Linked DNA regions of Homo sapiens: regions 1 and 2 are each linked to region 3. Evidence: promoter capture Hi-C in 16 types of primary human blood cells and fetal thymus (Javierre and others, 2016). All regions are on one chromosome and are shown on one strand. Each heading gives the region's core, a stretch centred on a gene start or on the middle of the fragment in contact. The rest is flanking DNA. Distances are from core to core; before and after follow the strand shown.

What was found. Contacts are between HindIII fragments. The CHiCAGO score rates a contact against its expected background, and 5 or more counts as called.
Region 1: a contact is called between the fragment with the promoter of MITF here and a fragment that was not itself captured in region 3, in 1 of 17 cell types (monocytes). The highest score is 6.2, in monocytes.
Region 2: a contact is called between the fragment with the promoter of EOGT here and a fragment that was not itself captured in region 3, in 1 of 17 cell types (activated CD4 T cells). The highest score is 10.2, in activated CD4 T cells.

What each region holds. Positions count from the first base shown.
Region 1 is chr3:69,737,565-69,742,009 of GRCh38, reverse strand. It overlaps MITF (melanocyte inducing transcription factor), which reads right to left and starts at 2,546. Exons shown (of 10, transcript NM_001354604.2): 1 at 2,309-2,546. The coding sequence starts at 2,412. RefSeq lists a silencer at 2,311-2,610 and a promoter at 2,410-4,445. The HindIII fragment of the contact is 10,451 bases long and covers 1-4,445 here.
Region 2 is chr3:69,011,331-69,015,531 of GRCh38, reverse strand. EOGT (EGF domain specific O-linked N-acetylglucosamine transferase) reads left to right here and starts at 1,848. Exons shown (of 18, transcript NM_001278689.2): 1 at 1,848-1,958; 2 at 2,733-3,017; 3 at 3,541-3,596. It overlaps EOGT-DT (EOGT divergent transcript), which reads right to left and starts at 2,412. Exons shown (of 1, transcript NR_185971.1): 1 at 1-2,412. RefSeq lists silencers at 1,621-1,920, 1,981-2,530. The HindIII fragment of the contact is 3,596 bases long and covers 1-3,570 here.
Region 3 is chr3:69,421,491-69,426,232 of GRCh38, reverse strand. It overlaps a transcript of FRMD4B not described here. Among named protein-coding and RNA genes, the nearest start is that of FRMD4B, 38 kb to the right of the region's middle. RefSeq lists an enhancer at 4,556-4,742. The HindIII fragment of the contact is 1,887 bases long and covers 310-2,196 here.

The DNA.
Region 1 (4,445 bases), core at 1,297-3,796, 310 kb before region 3:
CAACTCTGGACAATCCAGAGAAGACAGTTGATAGGCAGAACGGCTACAGCAGTCTTCACATATCAATTTCAACTTTTTCCGACAAAGACTTGTAAGAAGTGAGGTGCCCCAGCAAAAACATAAGACAAAAAGCAATGAGAGAGAAGGCCCTGAACAATGTGCAGCCCTTTTAAGTCACACAACAGATGTCGACGACAATACCTTAGACAACTGTGGAAAACAGTATAGAGAAATGTTGCCAACTCCATATATTTATTCACAGATTTTATTTAACTGGTTTATTTCAAAGAGCATGTGTGTGCTCCATATACAAGTTTTACAACAACTTTTTTAATTTAGCCTTCCTTTCCCTGCTGGTTCAGGCCCACACCTGTTTCTAGCATTAACGTGTGAAGCCATTTCTTCCCACATACCCACATTTTCCCTTACACGTGCCTGCTAGCTAGCTACTGAGGACGTTCACCCTTACAAGTCTTTTTTGCTGACTCTGAAAAAGAACAGGCCCAAATCGTGCAACATGAGTTTCACGGCACTCATTTGGGTTTTTCCAGATGGTATTTTCCTCGCTCTCTCAAACTGATTTAATGTTATGTATCAGCTACCATCAGAAATGTTCCAAACAGTCCGGTTAATTTATTTCTTTCAGGATTCCACACACACACTCATTCCCTCATTCTGGCCGTGTAAGCATTTGCTTATAGAAGCAAAAGCAGAGACTGCCCAGTAAAACACTGGTCCCTTCAGCCGAATGCAGATAAAGCCCTGATGAGCATAACCAACAATACCCTTCACACAATATTACTCAAAACCCCCAGCCCCCAACACACACAATCTATGCTCACACACAAAACAGCCATTATGAGGAAAAACCACCAACTAAAGGCTGGTTTTATACGTCCAACTGCTTAGGCGGTTTCCTTCCAATCTGCCGTGAAGCATCTACAAAGAGTCTTCAGCAATGGCAGTCAGTAGGACCGCTGTTCCCAGATTTTCTTCCCCAACTTGGATAAAGAGTCCTGCCACAGCCCTGAAGGAAATAAACCTGGCTGCACTTTCCACTAGAAAAAGAACCAGCCCAGTGCTCGCCAGAGGCCAAGATTACACCACTTGGCTCCCCGTTCAGTTGCCCTTCTCCACTCACCCTCATTTCAAGACCCTCTCCCACTCTGCCAGCCAGGCCCATTCACCCAGGCCCCATCCACAGCGAAGGGCAAGGCAGGAAGTTACAGCCGAGTGCAGAAGCCCTGCTGGATGCTTCCAATGATAGCCTTATCCTAGCTCACAGCTTAGAGGGGTGGAAATAAACCCTTCTCAGCTATTCCAGCCTCCATTGACCATGTCCCTTTTAGGAAACATTGTAAACGAGAAGTACGAGGCGTCCAGAGTGGCTGCCGGACAGAGAGAACGGAAGACACCCAATCCATTTCGACAGACAAGTGGGAATGGAGGCAGCAAAAAGGGTGGCTCAAGGGAAGTGGGCACTAGAGGGGATGGGGCATCAGAGCAGTGGATGTCTTCACTCCTCGTCTAAAAAGTTTCTGAAGTCCCCAGCGAATTAAACACGTGTCTCTGCCAAGCGGGGTACACTCCCAGTAACCCCCAAGACCAAGGCTCATTTCCCCTCTGCAGGTAAGGCCTGGATTTGAATGGGACTCTATTTCCAGAGAGTTTAACTTGAACAAGGGGACACGCCCACCGCTGCCCTGGCCCCTCCCGCGCCCGCTAGCAGCGGTCTGGAGGTGAGAGGCGGAGCCCAGAGAAACCTCACCTGCAGGAGCCCAGAGGCTAGTTTCCCCACAGAGACCGGACTCCCAAGAGGTGACTCCAAGCGAACTAATTGCTTCCCTCCAATGTCGCATCTCAGTCCACCCAAAGCTCTCCCTCTCCGAGCCCTCAACCCGCTGGGATCTTCAGAAAGGGGGTTCACTAGAACTCTTTCTCCCCCATCCCACCGGGACAGCGTCCCGGCCCGGCGCTCCTCCTCCCCCACATCGCGCCAGGTCGCTCCCCAGCCCCCAATCAGTCTCAGCAGCTGGCATCCTCGGCCGAGGGTCCCCGCGCCTGGACGCTTCGTCCCCGGCGACCCGCCGCGCCCCCGCGAAGTGCGCTCCATCCGAGCTTCCTAAAGGCGCACTTGGGCCGGGCAGGCGCGGCCCCCAACTGCGAGGGGCAGTTCGCCCTCTGCTCCGGGGCAAGGGCACTGGGTCCTTGTCCCAGAGCTCCCGCGACCCGCTCTCCTCGCCCCAGAGTGGCAGACGCAGTGCCCCCCAGCCGCCCGGTGCGCCTCTGCCCAGCTGTCACCACTCACCTGCTCTTCAGCGGTTGACTTTTGAGTTCGTAATAGGTTTTGGGCTCTTCATGAAACTCCTCCCCGACTTCGAAATCCGGCACGATCCCCGATTCGGACTGCATGGCTCCCGCTTCCCGTCCTTCCACTGCTGGAAAGTGAGAACAGAGCCCGGGGGCGGAGGGAAGGTAGCTGGGCCTGGGTCCCCCGAGCCGTGCGCCCCGGCGCAGTGCCGAGCTCTGCCCGCTCGCCGGCTCGCGGCCGCCCGCCCCAGCGCGGGGAGTTTACACTCGCACCCGGGCGGGAGGGGCTGGCGGCCGAGCGCCGCCTGGGATCTGTAGTTCGGCCCGGGCGGGGCATTCCCAGCTCGCCTGGGGAGCCGCTCCCACGAAAACTACAGCTCCCAGAAGGCCAGGCGGGGGAGAGGCAACGTGGTGGACACCGCTAGTGCAACTCCTGTTTGGATTCATTGTCAATGTCAGCAGCTCCTCTCCCTCCTCTCTCCCCACTTGCTTCAAGGGTACAGACTTGGCTACTTAATATGAATAAGAATGGACACTGACTGCTCTTCTACCATCGCCCCGACCTCTCAGCTCAGACATCTGCGAGGGCACGCCAAGTGCTTATTTTAAAAATAAAATAGTCAAGGGTTTTGGCACAAGAAAGTTTTAGCATTCGAGCCTGTCTTAAAATAAAAGGACTTCCTATCAGCTCGCATGCTTCCCTGGGCTGCTGCGACATATCAGCTTGTCCTCGGATTGGAACAACGAGGAAGAACTTTCCTTCGCTCTGTAATGAAAACGTTATTGGAGAAATTGTTCTTGTGCGTTCCTTTTCTAGAACTAAGTCTGGACTTTTACAATAGTATTCATCAGTTGAATGGCTCTTTCCCCTTTATCCAAGTAGCCACTTCTAATCTACAGCAGCAATTGAAAGATTCGGTTAATTTTAAAAGGCACAAAGTTACAAAATAGCGTCGTTGCTCTCTGCTTTTAATTTCTCAGTTGACTGGGAGTTCAAATGAGATTTGTCCTAGCATTTCAGGAGTGAAGATGTACAAGTGAACTGTACAAGTGTCCACCCCTTCCCGAGCTTCCCGGAACTCACTTAGGGAAGAGAATTTTAAAACTCTCCGTTGTGGCTCATTTGTACTTCTAGTTCTTCCCTCTGATTAGCTCCAGTAGGACGTGTTCCTTCTTTTCAAAAGTGTTTTGAGGCATCAGGGAGGCAGTATAGAGTTACAGTGGCATTTAAAGGTATAAGACTCAGAGTTGAAATCCCCAGTCCTTCTAAGAAGAGCTGTGCAATCCTGAGCATGTCACTTGGTTCCTAGAAGCCTCCATTTCTTCATCCATAAAAGAAGAGATTGGCAAACCAGTTTTAGAAGATGTTGCAAGGTCAAATGTAAGAGAAAGTGATTTGCAATCTATAAAAACTCTGCTCAGTGGTCATTCTTTATTAGGTCTTGAAGTTATTCCTTTCAGATTAACATCTCATTTTGGTGTTTGGCCTTTCAGAATTAATAAACTAAATGACTGTCCTAGGAGAAAATTCTAAAGAGGCTACAGTGACAACTGGGCACCTCCCAGGAGTTACCCCTTTGCATATCTTGCCTCCCACTGAAACATTTTAATTTCACATCAGAAAAGACATCCAGTAGGATGGATCGATGTTAGGGCTGGAGTTCTCAAGGTGATTTGGAAAAAGTGCAGAAGGCACACTATGTTGCAGTAGCAATTACCAAATTTTCAGAATAAAAATTAGTCCCCAACATACGACTTTTAGGCCCTCCCCTGAAACTATTAAACTATGTCAGAATACCTGAGAACACCCCTAAGGAAAGTGGGAGTTTTGTGCTCATAAAAGTGGGATCCTAGATTCCTTAATAGATGGACTGCTGGAAATTAGCTGTCAAAAGCAAACAAAGAAAACGTGTTTCCTTCATGTTCTCTGGGAGAGAAAGAAGAAAGATCAAACATGAAGGAAACATGCAGTCTAGACTTCTAATCTCATCTGGGCTCTCAATTATCAGTGCTTGGAATATGGGAGGAGGGGTTGTCATAATAACTTATGGATGTTACAGACGTTTAAGGGGTATGGGCCAGAGACACTACACATATTGCACAATAACAAATTTTCTTGTCCAAATTTCAGTGGT
Region 2 (4,201 bases), core at 599-3,098, 410 kb after region 3:
GTCTCACTGTGGCCCAGGCTAGAGTGCAGTGTCTCAATCATGGCTCACTGCAGCCTCAACCTCACTGGGCTCAAGCGATCATCCTGAGTAGCTGGGACTACTGGCATGAGCCACAGTGCCTGGCTTGAGGAAGCATTTTAAAAAATTACTGTCATTAGTGTGGGATGGTGAAGTATGCAAAGTATAAAATAATAGAGCAGTAATTCTGTTATAGGAAAGGGGTCCCAATCCAGACCCCAAGAGAGGGTTCTTGGATCTCGAGCAAGAAAGAATTCAGGGCAAAGTGTAAGCAAGTTTGTTAAGAAAGTAAAGGAAAAAAAAAAAGAAAGTAAAGGAAGAAAAGAATGGCTACTCCATAGACAAAGCAGCCCTGAGTGCTGCTGGTTGCCCATTTTTATGGTTATTTCTTGATGATATGCTAAACAGGTGGATTATTCATGCCTCCCCTTTTAAGACCATATAGGGTAACTTCCTGACATTGCCATGGCATTCGTAAACTGTCATGGCGCTGATAGGAGTATAGTAGTAAGGACTACCAGAGGTCTCTTTCATGGCCATCTTGGTTTTGGTGGGATTTAGCCGGCTTATTTACTGCAACCTGTTTTATCAACAAGGTCTTTATGACCTGTATCTTGTGCCGACTTCCTATCTCATTCTGCGACTTAGAATGCTTTAACGGCCTGGGAATGCAGCCCAGTAGGTTTCAGCCTCATTTTACTCAGCTCCTATTTAAGATGGAGTTGCTCCGGTTCACATGCCTCTTGACAGTTCCCTTAGAGGCAAAATCTTTTCAATAAAAAGAATAAATTAATACTGTAAAGTGCTTTAAAACAATGTTTGGCACATGTTAAACACCACATGTTCTTGCTGTTATTATTTGAAAAAAATTCCAGGTAAGATTCCTAATTTAGCAGGTCACTAATGGAACTTGTAACAATTCTTAAACAACATTACTTTTAAAAATTACGTAAAAAGCATGTAAGCCTTTGGAAACAAACTTGTTTCCTTATGATCATATTATTTAACTTCTGGTGACTATATTCATTTGAGCATGTTTATTTTGAAGTCATCACCTTCATATAATCAGTTCAACTTTAGTCACTATTTAATGATCAACTCTACTGTGCTGTAGATGGAATACTAGGCCTGGGGGAGCTTAGAGGAAAAGACAGTGGGGGATGGGAGTTCAAATAATTATAAGCAGTAATAAAGTAAATTAACAAAACCATAAAAATTAAACTCCACAGAGTAGCATTTGAACTTGATGAGTTTACGGATAGGTAAAACTATACTGCTTTTAAAATGTGTGTGGACTCCAAAGTATCCTCACCATCACAAAGTGTATTCGGTGAACGATGTTCAGTCCCCAAATTTGGAAGTTAGGGCGGCAACTTCTGCTTGAAATAAGACAAAAGTAAAAATCCACCTCAGTGCAACGCAGAAGACACGAAGAGTCAGGTTTTCTACCCACCCCGTCCTAACATCCTCTGAGCGCTTTAACGCTCTCGCTCAAGGAGGCGCGGGCTGCTGCGATGGAGATGGGCGTCCGGCGCCGGCACGTGCCGTCGGTCTTTCCGGCCCTGGTGAGGGAGCTGGCGGACTCGCGCGAACGTTCGCGGGAGAACGCCAGGAAGGGCAGATGGTTCCTCGACTCTGAGCCCCTCCCTGCTGCGCTCGCCGGGTCGAGGCCGCTCGCCGGGCTGAAGCCGCTCCGAGCGTCGGGCCCCGCGCCCTGGCCCTCCTGGGTGTAGTCCCGGTCCTGCCTCTGCGGGGCCCGAGCCCGCCCACGGCGCCGGCTGGCCAAGGTGTCCCAGCTGCTCCTTGGCGCCCCCTGGCCCAGCTCCCGCGCCCGAGGTTTCCGGTGAGCGGCAGTAGCCGGTTATGACGACTCCCTCCTCTGGAACAGCCGCCGTCTCCTCCGCCTCCTCCTCGGTAGTTCACGGCTGCCCCGGCTCCAGGTGGGACTCCCCCGCAATCTGCGGAGCCTTCCCCCGCTCTCCTTCCCGCCGCCGCAGCGCTCTGCGCTGTTCTTGCCCGGGTGGTAGCCGCTCCCGGCGCGGCTTCCCGGAGGGCTATAGCCTACGCACGCACTCCGCCCGCGCCTTCCCATTCCCTGCGGGCCGGGAGGCGGGCGTCGGAAGCCGATCCTGGCCCTCCCCGGCCCCGGGCGCCCGGCCCCTTCCCAGCGCCCGGAGCGCAGGCGGGCCCCGGGCCCTAGCCGCGTTGACCAGGTTTCCAGCCGGGGCGGAGCCGCTCCCCGGGGCCCCTCCCAGGCGCGCTGGGGACCCGGGGCGCCGCGGTGCACGGTGGCGGGCGGCCCCGGGAGATCACCGACCCCGAAGCAATCCCTGGCGGCGCCCGGGGTCCGGAACCCCAGCGCGGCGTCTCAGCCGCGGCGGGGTGCTCGCCACTGACCCCTCAGCCCTTGGCCGGGACTGACGTTCAAGCGGACAGCTGGGCTCTGCCGGGACTGACGTTCAAGGGGCAGCCGAGCACTTCCTGAGCCCTGCCTGGCACCCGCCGAGAGACTTTTTGGCACAAGTAGGGGCCAGCCGTTGAGGTGTCATTCGGGGTCTCACGTGTTGAACTTTCCATTTGCCCACTGCCGTCTTTAAACTTTTCCAAGCTCTCTCTCTCTGCGACATTGCCCCATTTCGCCCGCTGTGTCAACCCCAGGTTTTGCCTCCTATCCATCATCTTTCAGATGTTTCCCTTTTTTCCTTCCTCATTAGGCCTGTGGAAATCGAATCAAGGGTTTCTGGAGTGGAGTGATTCCAGCTGCTTTGAGCTGAAGGAAAAGTAGCCTGGCCAGTAAAGCGTCCGTGTGCTGGAGGAGTGCAGCCACCCATCCCGGCGGGCCTTGCAGGACGACCGACACCAGGAAGGCTTTGTGCCAGGCCCAGCAGCCACCCCCAGCCGCCTTATGCAAGTGGGTACATGCCCTCGCCAGACGCCAGCTTTCTGATCTGCGTCTTTAGATTTTTTCCATCGCCTAAGCGTTACTTCTCCACTGATCGGTGAGTTTAGTGATGGCCAGAGCTCACTGGAGGACAATGGACTTGGATAACCAAAGGTCAGGGCTTGGTCATAACAATGACTTTATTACCGGGAAGGACGAGTCAAAAAATAGGAAGGCCTGGGAACCCTCAGGCTCGCCACTCTAGGTGGGTAGCCCTGTGATTCAGCCAGTGGGATTACTGCTGTGAGAATGGGAAAGTTGTTTGCTTCTGGGAATGTTTGATCCACTAAGTATCCTGTTGGCCAGTTCCAGTGGATGCCTGTAGAAAGTGGGCCACCTCCTCCCGTTCCCCATTGGAATCTGGTCCGAGTTGCTGTGTTGGGGGTGGTGCCTGTGAACTCGAGTATAGCAGTGTGGTATTCATTAAGGAAAAGAAAGCGCACCACCGGCCAGGCCTTCTGGCTGAGAGTTATCACGTTACATTATTTTCTTTCTTAATATTTCCTTTAATTCACAACATCATCTGAATGATCAGGTTTACTTTAGCATCCTTTTAAGGTAATATGTTTCATTTCTGACAGGTTTTAGAGACCTGAAACATCACAGAAGCTTCTGAGTGGTTCTGAAGATTCAAGAGGTATATATTTTTATTACAAGTAGAGTCATTGTTACTATTAATATGTGTTTTTAAATTTTTATAAAACTGCTGTCAACTCATTCTTGGATAAAAGCTCCAAGTGAAAATGTTATTGTAATTCAGATCAGATTTACAGCAGATAACACCATACTCTTGAGGGCCGCCAAAGTGAAAAACCACAATACTTAACTACTCCAAGGGGGGAAAATGGGGGAAAAAGGATTCCTTTTTGGTGTCCCCACTGTTCACTTAGAATTCCATGGCCTTGGAACTTGAGGTTTGATGGAACATAGCAGTCAATTTCCTTTTCTTCTTTCTTTCTTTGTTTTTTTTTTTTTTTGAGACAGAGTCTCCCTCGCATTACCCAGGCTGGAGTGCAGTGGCGAGATCACGACTCACTGCATCCTTGACTTCCCAGGCTAAAGTGATCCTCCCACTTCAGCTGGGACTACAGCTGATTTTTTGTATTCTTAGCAGAGACCGGGTTTCATCACGTTGCCCAAGCTGGTCTCGAACTCAGGGACTCAAGCAATCTGCCAGTCTTGGCCTCCCAAAGTGCTACTATTACAGGCCTGCAGTCTGTTTCTAAAGGTTCCATCTTCACA
Region 3 (4,742 bases), core at 4-2,503:
ACTATATGGGTGCAACACCTGATTTAAAGAGAAGGGCTGTTACATCCCAGCATATGCCAGAAGCTCCACACTTAGCCCATTCTGTTGTTTAACTTTGGATTCCTATTGATAACATGGCATATGCCCTGTTTTAAAATTAGCACTTGCTTAGAGTTGCCTTTGTGTGAGGTATTTAGGAAATGGCCTGTGTTCTTGATCAATCTTTAGCAAAAGCTGTGGTATTAAAGCTATTAAAAGGCCTAACCTGTTATGGTAGACTTTGAAACTAATTATCACCTGACGGTTCATTTCTTTTTAATGCTGAAAGCTTATTTTAGCATTAAAGAATAAGAGGGTAATATAGTGTAGTCATTAAGCATACGCTCTGGAGTTAGATGAGGTTCAACTCTTGGCTCCCCCACTTACTTGGGCTTTGGGATCTTTGGAGAGTTACTAATTAATCCTTTTAAGTCTTCTGAAAAAAAAGATAAAAATAATACCTATCTTATTGTGGTGCTTTTATAAAACATTATTGTGCATCTACTTTGTACCAAGTGCAAAACATCACAGTGAGGATTGAATGAATTGGGAATTTACTTCACCTGGCATCAAGATGGAACTATTAATCTTTTAAAGCCCTTTTATGTTTCAGCTGAAGCCATCACGAAAGGTAGGGGCAAAAGAAGACATGCATGTTATTGAATTGCAGATCGATTAGAGATGAGATTTAGGTGGAGGCTGGCCAGCAGGGTCCATATTTAATTTCTCAGTTGTGCATTGGAAGTGAACTTTCCCCCATGGGCAGTAGGGTGTGCTGTGTGAACAGGATAACTACTTCTAGCACTAGTTTCAGGTGAGAGTGTCTCTCTTCACTTTTGGGGAGTGTGTTCGTGAACTAATGAGCAGCAAGTTCCACTTTGCTGTTAGTTCTCTAGCTTCTGTTTCTTGTGAACTTTAACTCCATGCACGTTTCTTATGGCAATAGAATTGATTAACATTTACTGCATGTCCTTTCTGGCCAATGCAGTGTTGAAATGAATTTACTGTGTAAGAAGGAGGTGACGCTAATACACTGGATATTGTTAAGAAGGCATCATGGAAATACTATATAAATTAACTACTGATAAGAGATAATAACACCATGAAAAACCATGGAAGAGATGAAAGCCTTTTAAAACACTAATAGCACATCACCTACCTTCCTATTTGCCTAAGTCACTGTCTGGCTGCAGAGAAGTAAGCAGAGGTAAAGTACATAAAAGCAGAGGGTTGCGGGTAGGTAGAAATAAAAGGCTGTTATAGTTCAAGTCCTAATTACCAAAGGCTAAAGATAAGGTCAACAGCACCTGTGATTTTTCTATATTACATCTATATAACTTGTTATTTAGAATCTTACATTCATTATTTTAGCTTTGCCTCTTGAAATCAGCTTCAGAATTACCTTCCTAAGCAAATTTTAAATTCATCTTTGAATTTTTAAAGAAGTTGCTTTTTTATTTAAATCCCATATTGGGATTTAAGGTAGTCAACATATATCTTACCTCAATTCTTTTGTCTTATAAAAGTAATTCTGTTTCTGCCAATCTAATAGGAGAAAAAATATCTCATTTGTTTAATATTTATTTCCGACTATCAGTGAAGGATTTTTGTATATTTATTGGCTGTTTGTGTTTCTTATGAAAATTGCTTATTCCCATCCCTCTTTGTCTGTGGATTTGCTTCTTATATTAGTAAGCTAAGAGAGAAACCACTCAGAAGTGACAGACTAAGGCACATGTGCCTTAATAATACAATCCTGGCTGTGCTGTGGCTTTCACCTGTAATCCTATCTCTTTGGGAGGCCAAAGCGGGAAGATCGCTTGAGTCCAGGAGTTCGATGCTGCAGTGAGCCATGATCACACCACTGCACTCCAGCCTGGGTGACAGAGTGAGACCTTGTCCTTTTAGTGTCAGTATACAGTCAGTTCTCATTATTTGAGGTAGTTATATTCAGTAAAGGCATCATGAACACCAAATTAGCAAATACTGAAACATCACACCTAGGGGGAAATAAGTTATGCTGCTATAAACCTCGTCACAACATTCTCATCAGCCAGTCAGTACATAACCTTGTTTTAAGTGTGTTTCTGTTTAAAGACACATTATTTAATATATGTAGTTGATTCATTAACATTGAACTCATATCAAAAGTACTATAATTCATGTTTGAATGAAGCTTATCTAAGACATTATTTTTTTTTAACAAGGACATTGCAGCTGCCTTCCACTTAGGAACTTTGTCCATTTGGGCTGCTGTTACGAAATACCATAAGCTGGGTAGCTTATAAACAACAGAAATGTATTTCTCACAGTTCTGGAGCCTGGGAAATTCACCATGAAGACACCAGGCCATTCAGTGTCAATGGATGAGGGTCCTGCTAATACCACTTGACAGTCCACTTGATTTGGTAGACCCTGATAAGGGTCCACTTTCTGGTTCATAAATGGCACCTTCTCATTGTGTCTTCACTTGGTAGAAGGGGTAAGGCAGCTCTCTGGGGCCTCTTTCATGAGGGCACTAATCCCGTTCATGAGGACTGTGTTCTCATGACCTAATCATGTCCCAGAGGCCCTATCTCCTATCATTCTGACACGGGTGATTAAGCTTCAAACTATTAATTTTGGAAATACACAAACATTCATACCACAGCTAATTTAGCAGTTCAGCACTATGCTTAGGGGGCATTTTAAACAGCAAAATCACCAACCAAAAGCACCAACATGTGTAAAACAGGTTGCTACATAGACTCTGAAAGGGACGTGTGTACCTAACATGAACTGAAACAAGAGGGCAGCGCTTTATTTTGTTATATCTCAGCTGAGAACAGGAGCATTGGGTGACTCAAATTTTTTGCTGTTCCCCACAAGTCAGAGAATGATTGCAAAAATACCTCGAGCAAAGGCTAAGTGTGGTGGCTCATGCCTGTAATTGCAGCGCTTTGGGAGGCCAAGGCGGGAGGATCACTTGAGCCCAGGAGTTTGAGGCTGCAGTGGGCTATGATTGTGCCACTGCACTACAGCCTGGGCAACAGAGCGAGATCCTGTCTCTATTTTTCAAAAAAGTACCTTGAGTATTGATTTTGGAGTTATGAATGAATTCTAACCAGTAGGCAAGTTTGAATTTTGTAAATAATGAGGACTGACTATATCAATAAATTTGTCTCACAAAAAAGGGCCCTTATGGTCCTTCCCTTCATTCCTGAACAACATTGGCTAACTATACAACTTACATGGGACTCATGCCCAGTGAGTCATATATATAAGTCAGAGCTCAGCAATCCCTGCCCTACAGTTCAGCAGTCTCTCCATCAGAGAACTTTCAGGACATAGGGGTCTGCAAGCTACTGCCTGTGGGCCAAATTCAGCACACTGCCTGTTTTGCTACCGTCCTGAGCTAAGAATGTTTTTTTTTTCCTTTTTCATTTTTAAATGGTTGTATGGGAAATCAAGTAACTATTTGACACATGAAACTTATACAAAATTCAAATTTTGGCGTCCACAGATAAAGTTTTATTGGAACAAAGCCATGCGCATTTGCTTACATATTGTTGATAGCTGCTTTCATGTAATAAGGCAGAAATGAATAATTGCCATAGTGATCATATAGCCCACAGAGCTGAAAATATTTACTGTCTGGTCCTTTATAGAAAAGTTTGGTGACTACTGACCTAAAACATTGCAGCTTGTCACAATGGAGGCTCTTGCACAGGCAGTTAAAAGCTCTGTATGGAAGTGATATCTCACCTAGCAGGGGAGGGGTAAGTACTAGAAGTAAAATAGGGTTTCTCTCTTCCCTGCCCCCTCTCCTTTTCTCTTCTTTTTTTTTTTTTTTCAGAGTCTCGCTCTGTTGCTCAGGCTGGAGTGCAGTGGCATGATCTCAACGCACTACAACCTCCCGGGTTCAAGCAATTTTCCTGCCTCAGCCTCCCGAGTAGCTGGGACTACAGGCACATGCCACCACGCCCAGCTAATTTTTTGTATTTTTAGTGGAGACGGGGTTTCACCATGTGTTAGCCAGAATGGCCTCGATCTTCTGACCTCAAGTGGTCTGCCCTCCTCAGCCTCCCAAAGTGCTGGGATTACAGGCATGGGCCACCACGCCCGGCCCCTCTCCTTTTAATATAAGTTTAGATTTCAAATCCCTATGAATGTACTTTGTGTGTTGAAGCAGATTAGAAAGTATCAGGCTGCTTCTATTAACAGATCTGCAGAAACCAATTTAAATGCAACTGAAGGGAACTCATCAGAGTGAAAATAAAATAATGACACCAATATTTTTGTGTTATGGTTATGCCACGAAATTCCAGTAGCGTTGTTTCCTATCAATTAAGAAAGTAACCTTTGTTTCATTTTGTCTTTATTTTTTGTTTTACTAGCTGAAAGTTATCTTAGACATCACTTAGGCCAGGGCTATCCAAGAGAATTTTCTACAAAGCTGGACATGTTTCAGATCTGTGTTATCCAATATGGTAGCCACTAATACCTGTGGCTATTGAGCAGTTGAAAGGTGGCTGTTGTGACTGAGGAAGTGAATTTTTAATTTTTGTTTAATTTTAATTAATTTAAGATGAAATAGTCACATGTGGCTAGTGACTAGCTTATGGGACAAGGCACATCTAGACTCAAGATTGCCAACTGCTCTGCAGGCTTGATTTGTTGCCAACACTTAAAGATTGGGAGACTTTATGTAAAAGTCTGAATTGTGGCTTCCCAGGAAAAATTGG